Linked DNA regions of Homo sapiens: regions 1, 2 and 4 are each linked to region 3. The links are contacts of gene promoters, found by promoter capture Hi-C in blood cells and fetal thymus (Javierre and others, 2016). All regions are on one chromosome and are shown on one strand. The core of a region is centred on a gene start or on the middle of the fragment in contact, and the rest is flanking DNA. Distances in the headings are between cores, read along the strand shown. Region 1 has its middle 34 kb from the start of LINC01875. Region 2 has its middle 29 kb from the start of FAM110C. Region 3 holds the start of ALKAL2 (ALK and LTK ligand 2). Region 4 overlaps TMEM18 (transmembrane protein 18).

Evidence for each region. Contacts are between HindIII fragments. The CHiCAGO score rates a contact against its expected background, and 5 or more counts as called.
Region 1: a fragment that was not itself captured here is called in contact with the fragment with the promoter of ALKAL2 in region 3 in 1 of 17 cell types (naive B cells); the score reaches 5.7 in naive B cells.
Region 2: a fragment that was not itself captured here is called in contact with the fragment with the promoter of ALKAL2 in region 3 in 1 of 17 cell types (total CD8 T cells); the score reaches 5.4 in total CD8 T cells.
Region 4: a contact is called between a fragment that was not itself captured here and the fragment with the promoter of ALKAL2 in region 3, in 1 of 17 cell types (megakaryocytes). The highest score is 10.1, in megakaryocytes.

What each region holds. Positions count from the first base shown.
Region 1 is chr2:578,463-581,734 of GRCh38, reverse strand. No RefSeq gene overlaps it. Among named protein-coding and RNA genes, the nearest start is that of LINC01875, 34 kb to the right of the region's middle. The HindIII fragment of the contact is 3,295 bases long and covers 1-3,096 here.
Region 2 is chr2:15,432-18,648 of GRCh38, reverse strand. No RefSeq gene overlaps it. Among named protein-coding and RNA genes, the nearest start is that of FAM110C, 29 kb to the left of the region's middle. The HindIII fragment of the contact is 2,083 bases long and covers 517-2,599 here.
Region 3 is chr2:286,272-289,561 of GRCh38, reverse strand. ALKAL2 (ALK and LTK ligand 2) reads left to right here and starts at 1,471. Exons shown (of 6, transcript NM_001002919.3): 1 at 1,471-1,549; 2 at 1,670-1,979; 3 at 3,219-3,272. The coding sequence starts at 1,727. LOC101927262 (a long non-coding RNA gene) reads right to left here. Exons shown (of 3, transcript XR_007085917.1): 1 at 2,938-3,290. RefSeq lists a silencer at 1,907-1,956. The HindIII fragment of the contact is 4,532 bases long and covers 1-2,269 here.
Region 4 is chr2:660,826-664,069 of GRCh38, reverse strand. TMEM18 (transmembrane protein 18) reads left to right here. Exons shown (of 5, transcript NM_152834.4): 5 at 1-193. Among named protein-coding and RNA genes, the nearest start is that of TMEM18-DT, 15 kb to the left of the region's middle. RefSeq lists an enhancer at 2,886-3,244. The HindIII fragment of the contact is 8,201 bases long and covers 1-3,244 here.

The sequences.
Region 1 (3,272 bases), core at 200-2,699, 290 kb before region 3:
GGCCCGAGTCTGGCATCTTACGATGGAGGCCGGATGCCTCTGCACAACCGTCGGCTCACAATCCTTAAACTTCCCAACAATGTTTCATCAGCACCACACTCCCGGCTGTGTGCACCAGCTGAGATCCTGGCCCTTACCCACCCTCAGGGCTGGCTTAGCTGCCCTTTCCTCACTGACTGCCTTTGACTGTGTGTCTAGGCCCAGGAAACTTGCCTGACAAATTACAGAGCTCTCCAGAAATAAGCATTCACTTTTATTTTTCTTTAATAATGCTTTATGCTTATACCCATAAATGCAATCATATAAATATGTAAATTACCTTGTTAGGGGTGCATTCCTTATTTTTCTCTTATTTTTTTTCTCTTTTCCATTTTCAATAACCTTTTTTCTCCTTGCCGCCTCCTCTCCCACTCCCTCCTCCAGATAGAAACCTGGCATGTAGACTTCCACGTATTTTTCTCCATGGCCATATGATAATATGCAAACACAAGCATAAATATTTAAATTCACATTTACCTTAGCCATTATTAAAAATCCCATTAATACAAATGGGATTCTATTGTACGTCTCCCAAATCTGTTTTTTTTTTAACTCATCCACAACTTTGAAACCCAAGTCAACTGATATATTTTTAATTAGCTCTTAAAAGCTCATGATGTTAATGCTGCGTCTGCTTAACCCTCCACCGTGTTAAATACAATCATCTATTCAGCTATTCTTCTACTGATGGGCATTTGCCTGGTTTCCAGACTTCTGCAACTACGAACATAGTTTGCCATAACTTTCCTTGCACATTAATTCTTACTTGGGCTTTTATTCCACAGAACAGATGCTGGGGACTAAGCTGGCTCACAGAAAGGTTGATGCATTTTTAACTTGAATGCATGCTGTCAGATTTCTCTCCAAAGTGCTTTACCAAGCCCAGCAGCCACGGATGAGACCGTGCATCTCTCCCACACCCCCATGGGAAATAGGGACCTCTCTGTATCACCTTAGCCAGGCTCGTGCAGTGATGTTTTATTATCGAGTGGCCACCAGCCGTAATGTGAGACTTGCAATGTTCCTTAGAAATTGAGATTTGATCTAAGGATTACCCTTTCATCCTGTTACCCACTTCACTATTACTGCCTTTATTACTTTTCGACTTCTAAATTTCATTTTTTTAAATGGTCAGTGGATGTTCATGTTTTCTATTCAAGTGACATTCTATATATATAGTTACTGAATTTGTTTTACTGACTGCGTGTTCAGTTTTTCTGCATCACGATTTAGGTTTATGCACTGGAGCGTCCCCATTCTAAAAGTTGTGGTTAAAATTTTCCACTACTATTTTACTGGATTGGATGGGACTGAAATCCATTGGGCTTTTTATGTATTTTGTCCCGTTCTTATTACGTTTTCATTGTTGGTTTATACTCAGGTGCTAAGTTCTGTGCATATAAATTGGTGACTGTTAAACGTGCTTTCCACAGAGTGCCCCCAGGAGGCTTTGACCCACTGCCCCCACTCAGCGCCCTCACACGGAGACCTCCACCCTCTAGCTGGCTTGCTGCCACCTCTGCCCGGCCTTCTGCACATCCCTCTGTGACTCAGTCCTTCTTCACAATCAGGTTTGGTAAACCTATTTCATAAAGAGCCACATAGTAAATATTTTATGTTTCTTGGATACACAGGGCATCTGTTGCATATGCTTCTTTTTACTTTTATAATCTTATAAAAATGCAAAGAACACGTGTAGTTCACGGTCAGTTAAACATAAACAAAAAACAAACTGAAGTCATAGTTTGCCGAACCCTGACTTATAATTTTATTAATGAGTGTTTTTTTTTTTTTTTTGTAAATAGCACGTTGGGTTTGTTTTCATTTTATTCAATTAAACATTCTTTGTAAATAATTGAAAAAAAATCCCTCTGTTGAGCCTACAAGCATGATGATCGATGTATCAGTGACAGGAAGCAAAACCAGTTGCAACAAGAGAAGACCCTGAGAATTCGGCAGGAAACCTCAGAGCCGCAGCCGCCCTGTGTGCATCATGGGGTTGAAGACTTCCCACTGGCTGCTGCTGTCGGTCTCCAGGTTGCTGTGCACAGAGGGGATGAGACGGGAGACGCGGGTGCCAGGTGCAGCCCAGTCCTGCCCAGGCCAAGCTCCTTGTGAGCACAGGTGGAATGGCTGCCTTCCAGTGGACCACAGAGGCAGTTGGCAAGCTGGGAGCAGAGGCTCTGATTGGGCCTCAGGTTGCACCCTTGTTATTTGTTTGTTTGTTTTACTGACATCTTTGTATTTGTTATAGCTTGCCAAACTTTCAGAAGATAATGAGAGCTCTAAACACAGGGCTTGATGAACTATGACTCAGCACACAGCGTCCAGGTCAGCATACAGGACACCCCTGGCATTTCCGTGTCTCAATCTCCCTCCATCGCCATTCCCTCTTCGCCAACGCAGCATCATCCTAATTCCTAACAGGAGAATTCTGTTTTCTTATTTAAAAAAAAAATTCTAATTTTCAGGCCGGGTACGATGGCTCATGCCTATAATCCCAGCACTTTGGGAGGCTGAAGTGGGTGGATCACGAGGCCAGGAGTTCGAGACCAGCCTGACCAAAATGGTGAAACCCCGTCTCTATTAAAAATACAAAAAAAAAAAAAAAAGAAAAAAAGCCAGCCGTGGTGGCACATGCCTGTAATCCCAGCTACTCAGGAGGCTGAGGCAGGAGAATCACTTGAACCCGGGAGGCAGAGGTTGCAGTGAGCTGAGATCACACCACTGCACTTCAGCCTGGGCAGCAGAGCAAGACTCAGTCTCAAAAAAAAAAAAGAAAAAAATTCTAATTTCCAATATAAATTTTGACCAATTTTTTAAAATGTTCACTTGATGAGTAAAAATTGTATATATTCACGATATACAACATGCTGTTTGGATGAATATGCATTGTGGAATCAGCTTTGACTAATGTTGACATTTCAATGAAGAGACTCATATAATATATTTTTCTGTGTCTGGCTTCTTCTCAAATGTTATTTTATAAAATTTATCCTTTTTATTGTATGTAACATTTTGATAATTTTGTTGTTCTATGGTATTTTATTGTAAGCTTATAACACGACTTACTCAACAATTCTGTTGACGAGCATTTGAGTTGTTTTTAGTGAAAGGATATGAAATCCTGCTCTGTATATTTTTCTAAGTAGATGTTGGTGTCAGTCTGCATTTCTCAGGCTACACATAGCAGTGGAATTGGTGGGATCCAGAGTCTGAGCACCTCCAGCTTC
Region 2 (3,217 bases), core at 309-2,808, 270 kb after region 3:
CTGTGATGACTGAGCCCTTCCTCAGCACTGCCACAGGGAGCACATTCACACATTCACACGTGTGCCACACAAATACCAGGGTTAGGTCAAAAAACCAAGTGTTACCTGGAGGAAGCCACAAAGGCTATGAGACCAAGCCTTCACCTGGAAGACACCTGAAAGTTCAGAAGCCGACATCCTGCAAGGTATCTTGGGGAATTCAGCTGTGACCCCGCACTGTATGGAAGGGTGGGCAGTGCAGCCAAGGCAGGTGAAAAGGATTGTCCACTGTTGAGCATCATCAGCCTAAAACCCACATGCAATGCTATTGCTGCAAAACCACTGACTGTTGCAGCCAGAAACCACCGAAACAGACTCCCTTTATGGTCCTCACTGTGCAACTGGTAACTTTTCAGAAGATGAAGACTAAATATATTAATCATAAATTCAAAGTATCAGAAGAAATACTAGGAGATTTTCTAACCTCTGCTACCATGACTTTTTTTTGCAAGATTCATGAATTATTGTAAATAAGCTTACAGAGGCCAAAGTGCTCCCCTGAAGTCATCCAGAAAGAGGCAGGCTGCTAATCCCCACATCTGAGACATCTGTGTTTTCTTAGAATAATAGAAAAATTAAAGATAAGGGAGAGAGAGAGGGACAGGAAGAGACAGAGAGACAGAGAGAATTGGAGCTAAGAGAAAACACTTTCACGTTTTGCCCCCCAAAATTCCCAGTGAACATTCCCATTGCCAGCGGGTGAAATCCAAGGCCCTGGCTCCAGGATCCTGCTCTTTCCTTTGGTGATTCCTATTCAAGTTTGGCATAGAAAGAATATGGAACTTGTCACACTTCTCTGGACAAGTCATTTTGCTTTTGACTCACAGGCTCCACTTTCCTAGACACCCCTTCGCCCAAAGGTTCAAGTAATTCAGCTTCACCCTTCAGAGAAGAGCTCAGGTGTCACTTCCTCTAAGGACCCTCCCCAGCCACCTCTCCAGCAGAAGGGCCCCCAACTTGCTCTTTGCACCTCTGTCCCTCAAAGTGCTGCCATCCTCTGTGGAGGGTGGGACCCCGGGAACTAGAGCCCCTCTCATGCTGGAGACACTCGGCACTCAGTAAGTGTGTGCTGAGTGGATACAAGTGCAGCGAGCTTGCACAGCCTTACAATGTGTACTCTCACGTCTGGCATAGAGCCCCATTTTCATTCTTTGTAAAATGAGTAAGTGGGGCTGGGTGACCCATACTCTCCTTTCAATTCAGAAGTCCACATTGAGCCTGACATCAAATAGCTTCCCAGCCAGCGCCAGGCCAAGATCCAGGCTGTTCAATGTGCCTGTGTGGGACCAGCTCTGCTGCCTGCTGCCCAGTGCCAGCCAGCAACCCCAGGCGCACAAAGGAGCACCTGCAGGCACCTGCAGGAGATCTTTGTTATTTAGTAGCTGTGACTGGGCTGGGAGGGAGTGTGTTCATTTCTAATTTTCCGGTGACTAGCATGAGACAGTTTGAAATGTGGTGATTTTTTTTCTCTTGGCCCCCCCAAAAAAAGGCCTTTTTACCTTCTGATCCTTGGCGCCACTGACATTAGCTATGGTCCTGATAGTTTAAGAAAACTTTATTCTCCAAAGGAACATTTTGGTAAATAGTGTAATTCTTTATTACAGCAAAACCATTGCTTAGGTGGGCAAAACTCGGGAGGATAGAAAAACACACTCTTGAAAACAGGTGGTGACGCCCTAAAATTCAGCAAACTGCAGGGAGACGTGTTGTTCTACCCCAGGTCAGAGTGTGTCAGTCATCACTCGATGCCACTCACAGACCACCAACTTCAGAATACCTAGGTGTAAAGGTCTGTACAAAAGTCATAACATAATAATCTAAATAATTTTACATTATTAATAATTATATTACACTATTATATAATGTAAATGCTATTAAAACATGTTTGTCTTCAAAGAATGGCCTTGGTTTCTGTGGGCAGCATCTCTTGATGGAAAGGTAATGCATTCCTGCTAAATCATGGACAAAACGGGCCTCCAGGAGCTCCAGGCTGCAGCAGCAGCTTCTCATCTACATCCTTCACTGCATGATGTTGTTGTTGACTTTGAAAGCTCCTTTCAGTCTAGTTTTATCAACAGAGCTAGTATTTCATGAGGAACTACTACATATCAGGTTCCAGAAAACTAAATGCCTTTTGTTTGTTATTATTCACTAAATACAAACAACAACTCTCTTCTCATTACTCACACACATAATTTAGCTGAGGGCGATTGAGTGACTTTCCCAGGGTCACACAGCTACTAAGAGTCGAGTCGTGTTTAGATTCATGTGGGAATACTGAACACAGAAATGAACCAGTGGAAATATCCTATGTTCCAAAAGCTGACTCAAGCCATTTGTTCTTATTTTAAGGAAAATCTTTATGCTAATGTTAAACTCCAAATACTTATGAATGGCAGAGATCTACAGATTTCATTCTAATGTAGGAGATGATGCTCACCAGCTGGTTACTGCTACCACCCCACAACCCTGAGCATACTGGACAAATGTCTAAGCCTCGTGGTTAGTGCGGACAATGCTGTTGGAGTCTGAAGTTGTCATGCAGTGACTCACTCAAGCTTAGGCAGATTTGGTGATATATGACACAGAGATGCAAAGAAATGCTGTAGCTGACACACACAGGCTGGCTCTGGGAGATGCAGAAGGAGCATGTCACCCAAAATAGAGCCAGATAGACATCCTTAAGGAAGGAGCAAAGGGGCTGCAACATAAAGAATGAAGAAAGGATTTATCATGAGAGATGGGGCAGGTAGTTCTCCAGAGGCAGAGGGAGAGCATGAGAATGTGGGGAAGGGAGGAGAGATTCTCGCACATCTGGGAAGCTGACAATCCATCAGCACGGCCAGAAGGAAAATAAGAAGGAGAGGAAATAATAGATGAGGCTGGATATAGAAGCAGGGTTCAAGTTGTGTCTATTGTGGTATATAGTTGTGATTCTACCCAGAAGGCAACAGGTAGCATTCTAAACAAAGATCTTTTAAAACAAGAGTTAGCAAGTATTTTCTGCAAAGGGCAAAATGTTAAATATTTTAAGTTTTCCAAGCCATGTGGTCTCTGTCTCAATGACTCAGCTCTTCCATTGTACTATGAAAGTAGCCAGAGATGTTATATAACACATCTATGTGGCTTTGTCCCAATACAACTTTACTTACAAATGCAGACTGTGTCAGACATGGCC
Region 3 (3,290 bases), core at 222-2,721:
CTCCTGCGGGCGTTCCCTGCCGGGGCGCGAGGGACCCGCGGGCCGAGGGTCCAGCGCAGAGGAGCGCGCAGATGGCGCGGTCCTTGCCGGGGAGGGACCTTCGCTCGTCCTCTCGCAGGGGGTCTGGGGAGGGGGTGCAGGTCCTGCCCCTCCTCGGGTGGTCAGCTGTGCGCACCTCGGGGGCCGTGGAGAGTCCTCACCCGCCCATCTCCTGCCTCCTGGCCGCCCCGCCTCGGGGACCAGGGCTTGGGGACCCGAACCTGGGGACTGGGCTCGGGCGGGGCAGACCCCTCGAGGTCCGGAGAGCGGATCCCTCCAAAACGGATGGACTCTAATTGACTTATTAAATGTCGAAGCAATCAGGCAGCTCCCTTTTTAATAGCCCAAGATCTACATTTAGACAAAAACAGAACCGAGTTCCTGGTAAAGGCGTTTCTTCTCATCCTGTCACAAGTGACAGGAACGGAGGGAAACAGACTGGGGGAGGGGCGGGGGGAGGAGAACAGGGGGAAGAGGAGGAGACGGGGAGTGGGGGAAGGTGGGGCAGGAGAGGAGGAGACGGGAGATGGGGAAGGTGGGGAGGGAAGGGGCGCGGGAGACGGGGCGCGGGCGAGGGGGAGACGCGGTGGAGATGCGGGTGGGGGGACCGGGCGGGGGCGGGGGCGGAGTTGAGGGGGAGCGGGAGACGGGGGGAGGCGAGAGCGAGGTGAGGCGGGGGGACTGACGAAGATCCGCATGGGGGTACTAACACTTCAGCGGCTTCTAATTAAAGCCCCGCTCGGAGCCCTTGGGGACCCGCCTGACGTCGGCGGGCGCGGGGATAAGAAGCTCCCCGAGGTCTGAGGCGGGACTCGGAGCCGGCGCACCCCAGGTCGGCCGTGGGTCCAGCGCTCGGAGCGGCCGAGTCCCCGCGTCCCGTGCGCTCCGCCCGCCGGGCATGGAGTAGTGGCGCAGCTCGGGGCGCGGGGACAGACGTGCGCACAGACGGCGACGACTCCGGCGGCTCCAGGTAACCGGCCCGGCCACGACGCGCAGGTGGCTCCCGGGTGGCGCCGGGCAGGTGCGGGAGGGCGCCATGGCCGGGAGGTGGAGGGGCTTCCAGCACGTGGCGCGGCCGGGGCCAGCGCGAGGGTCCGCACCCGGCCTCCTCCGTGGGCTTCGGGGACTCGGCGCTCGCCGGCGACCACCGCGCAAAGGCGACGCTGGAAACTTGAGCGCGGCCGCCGGGCCCGGCGCGCGGCGCCGCCTTCTTGGAGAGCGGTAGGCGCGGGAGCGCGGCCCCTCCGAGGTCCGCCCGCGGCCGGGGAGCTGCCTGGCACCCGCGGCTTCCAAAGGGGAAAGAAAGTTGCGCCCGCGCCAGGCGCAGCGCGCTCGGCGGACGCGGCCTTTCGGGCGAAAGTTAGGAGGGGCCGGGCTGGCGGGCGGGCGGGTTCCGGGGGCTCCTTTCCGCACCAGCGGCGGTCGCTCCCCGTGGGCGGGACCTCGGGCGTGATCGTCGAGGAGACCGCGGCTCCCTCACCTGCCGGCTTGTTCCTCGGGGTCCGCGGAGGTGAGGGGCCGGGTCCAGCGCCAGCGGCTCCTCCCGCCTCCCCTCCCCTCCCCCGCCCCGCGCTCCGTCCCCCTCCCCCGCTGACTTTCTCTCCGGCCCCCCGCGCCCCTTCTCTCGCAGCGAGCCCAGCTCTCGGCGCGTGTCGGAGTCTCCCAGCCCCGCGGCCCCGAGCGCACGATGCGCGGACCCGGGCACCCCCTCCTCCTGGGGCTGCTGCTGGTGCTGGGGGCGGCGGGGCGCGGCCGGGGGGGCGCGGAGCCCCGGGAGCCGGCGGACGGACAGGCGCTGCTGCGGCTGGTGGTGGAACTCGTCCAGGAGCTGCGGAAGCACCACTCGGCGGAGCACAAGGGCCTGCAGCTCCTCGGGCGGGACTGCGCCCTGGGCCGCGCGGAGGCGGCGGGGCTGGGGCCTTCGCCGGAGCAGCGAGTGGGTGAGTGGGGCCGAGCGCGCCCGAGGGCCGGGGCTGCTGGGAAATAGAATTGTCTTTGAGAAACACGTTTCAAAAAGAGACATCAATTTTGACCACTGAACAGCAGGATTCCTTTTTTTTTTTTTTTTTTTTTTAAGAAAAAGAAAATAGCAGCAATAGGTCCGCGCATGAGGCCTGGCGGAGAAGCGCCTGGTCTCCTTCTGGCGCGCGTGAGCTGCGGCGCGGGTCGGTGGTTTCCACACTAAACTGTCAACCGTCACTTTGGAAATGGAAGCATTTCCAGCAAAGCTTTCCCAACTGAAAAGGAAGCATCCAGGCTCCTTCATGGCCCTGCCCAGAGTGGTGGCCCACGGGGAATTTCCCAGGAAAGCATGAAAGCGTCTAATGCTTTTGTGACACAATCAGGTCAAACATGATAAGGTCAGTTTTATCCCGGCTGCGTCAAGTTAGGAGTGAATGAAGACTCACTAGGGGGTCAGCTGTGGATGCGAATGCTCCTCTTCAGAGGGCGTGACTTCACACACAGTCGGGGCTCAGCCAGGAGCCCTGAACGGGGGAGTGAAGATGGAGAGGGCTGTAAATACGCAAAAACAAAGCTGAACTCAAGAAGAACGCCCTTGCAGGGTTCTCCCCACCCACTGTGTGCGGAGAACCCTGGTGGAAGAAGTTTGCTTGGCAGAGTCTTTCCCTGGGATTCTTACCCTACAAACCAGGTTCATGCATATTCCCACTAATTTACACCTCACTGAAACGTGGTCTTTTAATCCTTACTCTAAATATGTATCTAGATAAAGTAATGTTCTGTAACCCATTTTTTTGTTTGAAGGGTCAGGTTTTCTCTAAAAACTTTGAAATGTTGTGGGATTTGATTCCCAAGGTCCTTAAAACTAAAGTGCCTAAAAGTGACTTATTCACTGGAAGTTAAATGTTTAAAAGAAAAAAAAAACAGTTTTCTTACCTCTGTAACTTCGTGGTCTCTGTCTGCATCCCACGGGGTAGACAGCCGACATAATCCTGGAGCTTCAGGAGCAGTTACTGTTATTTCAAGGAAAATAAATGTCCCTGATATTGAGTCTTCTTCACTGTCGTGTGTTGCAATCCAGGGCCCCAGTCTTTTTTATTTTGTGCAAAGCAACTTGGCTAATATGGAGCTCCAATTTTCTTCAACATTCACTTAAGATCACATTTTTAAAAAATGCGTCCTTCAGGTAATATAATACTTTCTTTTCCCTGAAACAGAAATTGTTCCTCGAGATCTGAGGATGAAGGACAAGTTTCTAAAACACCTTACAGGTAAGTTTTCTCCTCGTT
Region 4 (3,244 bases), core at 434-2,933, 370 kb before region 3:
GCATCATTGCTTCCTTCTCTAGCCTCCAAACCGAATATCCTTTTGCTCAAGCATCCAGGTAAAAAAAGGGGGACCTTAGGAATTGTGAATTTGAAGCCAGAAGCCATGGTTTACCTAGGAATGGATTTACTTGCCAAGAACTGTGACACCTTTATAAATAAAGTTACTCATGTTGGCTTTTTTGCTCTTTAAATTCTTCTCTGTAAGTTACTGATGTGACAAATCAAATAATAAATTTCAGACAGCTTATATATTGACAATACAAGAAAGTCCATCCAAGAGTCTCTCAAAGCATACCTGGCACATATTAGAAGCATGTAAGTTCTGAAAAGTACTGAGTGGACATTTGTGGGGCCTTGACTTCCCTGCCACTGTCCTTTGTAACCGATGACCTCAGGTTGGGCTGGGATGGGTTTGTGTCTCCCACCAACCCTAGGCCGCACACGGGGCTCTTGGGTGAGTGAGAGGCTTCCCCGCTGCAATCACAGTCCTGAGCAGAACAACAGACCGGAAGCAGCGCGGAGCCTGGGAGTGGAGGTGCAGCCTGGGTGGATGCGGGTTTCCCGGCTGCTTCAAGGGCACACAGCGCTTTCTCATTTCTTACCCTCCCAAGTCTTCACCATTGTCCTGGCAGGTTTATGACCCCCATCCTACAGGGCGTCACCTTTATGTCGACAGCACATTGAAATACGTATGCAATTAGTGGATTTTCCAGGGTAACAGCTGCAAGCTGTTGTGGAATTCTGCACATTAATACGTGGTCATTGTAAAAATGTGTTCATGAGAACTCTTGAGAGGTACTGACATGTCTGACGATAGATTCCGAGTGAAAACACTTCCTGTGATGACCACAGAACATGATCAATTTTATAAGAGCCTTGGTTCTCACTGGACATGGTGATGATGGCCTCGAATTTCAGTTTCCCTTCAGGAAAGGTATATAGGCATACTCGACATAGTTATTTATAAGATCACTGTAAGGATCAAAAGATATGTGTTAGATTCCCTAAACTGCACGTCTGTTAACGGCTTTGGTGGGGCTGGCGATGCGGTGGTGCTGATCTGATCCCCAGAATGATGTGGAGCATACAGAATGCGTCCTGTGCTGCTCACTCCAGGACCAGAATAGAGAAAAGGAAATGTGACATGTAGCTGCTGCGTGAAAGAGATGCCCGGCCCGACGTGGGGCCAGAGTCGTGGATCCTGCACAGGTTGGTCTCCTGAGCTGTGAAAGGGGAACGTCAGGATCTGGGGCCGCATACCTCCTTGGCTCTGCAGAGCTTTTCCAGTTCGTTCCCCGTTCTGTCTGAGAAAGACATCTTTTCCACTAACCCTCCAGAGGGCACCACAGCACCATGCCAGAGGCCCCTGTTTGGCTGCTTGGGGAAAATTTCTGTCACTTATTCAGAAAGAGAAGTCTAATATTTTTGATTGAGGAACGTCACCCGGAGCTGAAGGGAATGAGCCGGGAAGCACAGGGCTTCGGTTTCCTGTGTTCATTTGAATGAGGTTAACCACATCCCAAATCAGTTGTAAAGTCAGTTTTTACTGTCCAGAAACAGACCTAAATACATACACAGGTGAACACACAGAGTCACATGTGCACACATGTGAACACAGAGACACGTGCACACGTGAACACACAGAGACATGCGCACATGTCACAACGCAACGTACACAGTGCAGGTTTACATATACACTCTCACTTGTGCATGTAAGCTCACACTCATGCACATACCCACACGATACATGCAGCAGTGTACTCTCACGTGTGCACACGTGCACACATGTAGGCGCCTGGAGACATCACTGATTTCATTTTTCCGTTACATTAGAAAACACCCATGCTGCACCTGCACCCACACAGATGATGATGTGAATGAATAAGTGCATTTACATGGTCTAGTTTCAGGAATGCTTTTTTTTTTTTTTTTTGAGACGGAGTCTCACTCTGTCGCCCTGGCTGGAGTGCAGTGGCATGATCTCGGCTCACTACAACCTCCACCTCCTGGGTTTCAGCGATTCTACTGCCTCAGCCTACCGGGTAACTGGGATTACAGGCACCTGCCATCACGCCCAGCTAATTTTTTAGTATTTTTAATAGAGTCTGGGTTTCACCATATGGGCCAGGCTGGTCTCGAACTCCTGACCTCAGGTGATCCACCCATCTCGGCCTCCCAAAGTGCTGGGATTACAAGCGTGAGCCCCCGTGCCCGGCCCACGAATGCTTTTTAAAGAAGACCTATCCAGTGAAGTAACATGATGAGAATGGAGGGACTGAGAGGCTGCTCTGTGGGGGCTGTGCTATGATAGGGATGAGCCTCACAAGATGCTGCAGGCCCGAGGAGCTCACCACTTCTGCCTGCTGGACACTGGGAGGCTCAGACACACGAAGAGAAAGGATGAAGGGCCCCACCCTGGCCCTTGACGCGCTGCTGGCCTCAGGAACTACTTTTAAGTAGAGAGTAGAAGTTGGAAGCTGAAGTGATACGCCCTCCTTCGCTTGACCTTATCTGTGGTCTCAGAAGACTCGGGCGGCTGGAAACGTCCACGGGAAATGGGGGCGAGGCTGCACTCTACACCCAAGGCCCACCTGCACCATCCAGGGCCCAGCCTCGGCAGCTCCGGGTGCACAGCAGGTAGCGAGAGCACTGCAGGTAGTGGGAGCACTGCAGGCAGCGAGTGCACAGCAGGGAGCGGGAGCACAGCAGGGAGCGGGAGCACTTCAGGGAGCGTGTGCACTGCAGGGAGCGGGAGCACTACAAGGAGCAGGTGCGCTGCAGGGAGCAGGAGCACTGAAAGGAGTGGGAGCACTTCAGGTAGGTGCACAGCAGGTAGCAGGAGCACAGCAGGGAGTGGGAGCACTGCAGGGAGTGGGTGAACTGTATGAGCAGGTGCACAGCAGGTAGCAGGAGCTCTGCAGGGAGGGGGAGCTCTGCAGGGAGCGGGAGCACTGCAGGGAGCAGGAGCACTGCAGAGAGCGGGTACACAGCAGGGAGCGGGTGCACAGCACGGAGTGGGTGCACTTCAGGGAGTGGGTACACAGCAGGGAGTGGGTACACAGCAGGGAGCGGGTGCACAGCAGGGAGTGGGAGCACTGCAGGGAGCAGGAGCAGTTCAGGGAGCCGGTGCACAGCAGCTCTGTCCTTAGATAGAAGCCCGACTGGGAGACCCGCTCCTCGTTCCCCTGCTCTCAACCGAGGCCCAGCCGACGTCCCTGCGGCTTCTGCCTTACATCCCGGCC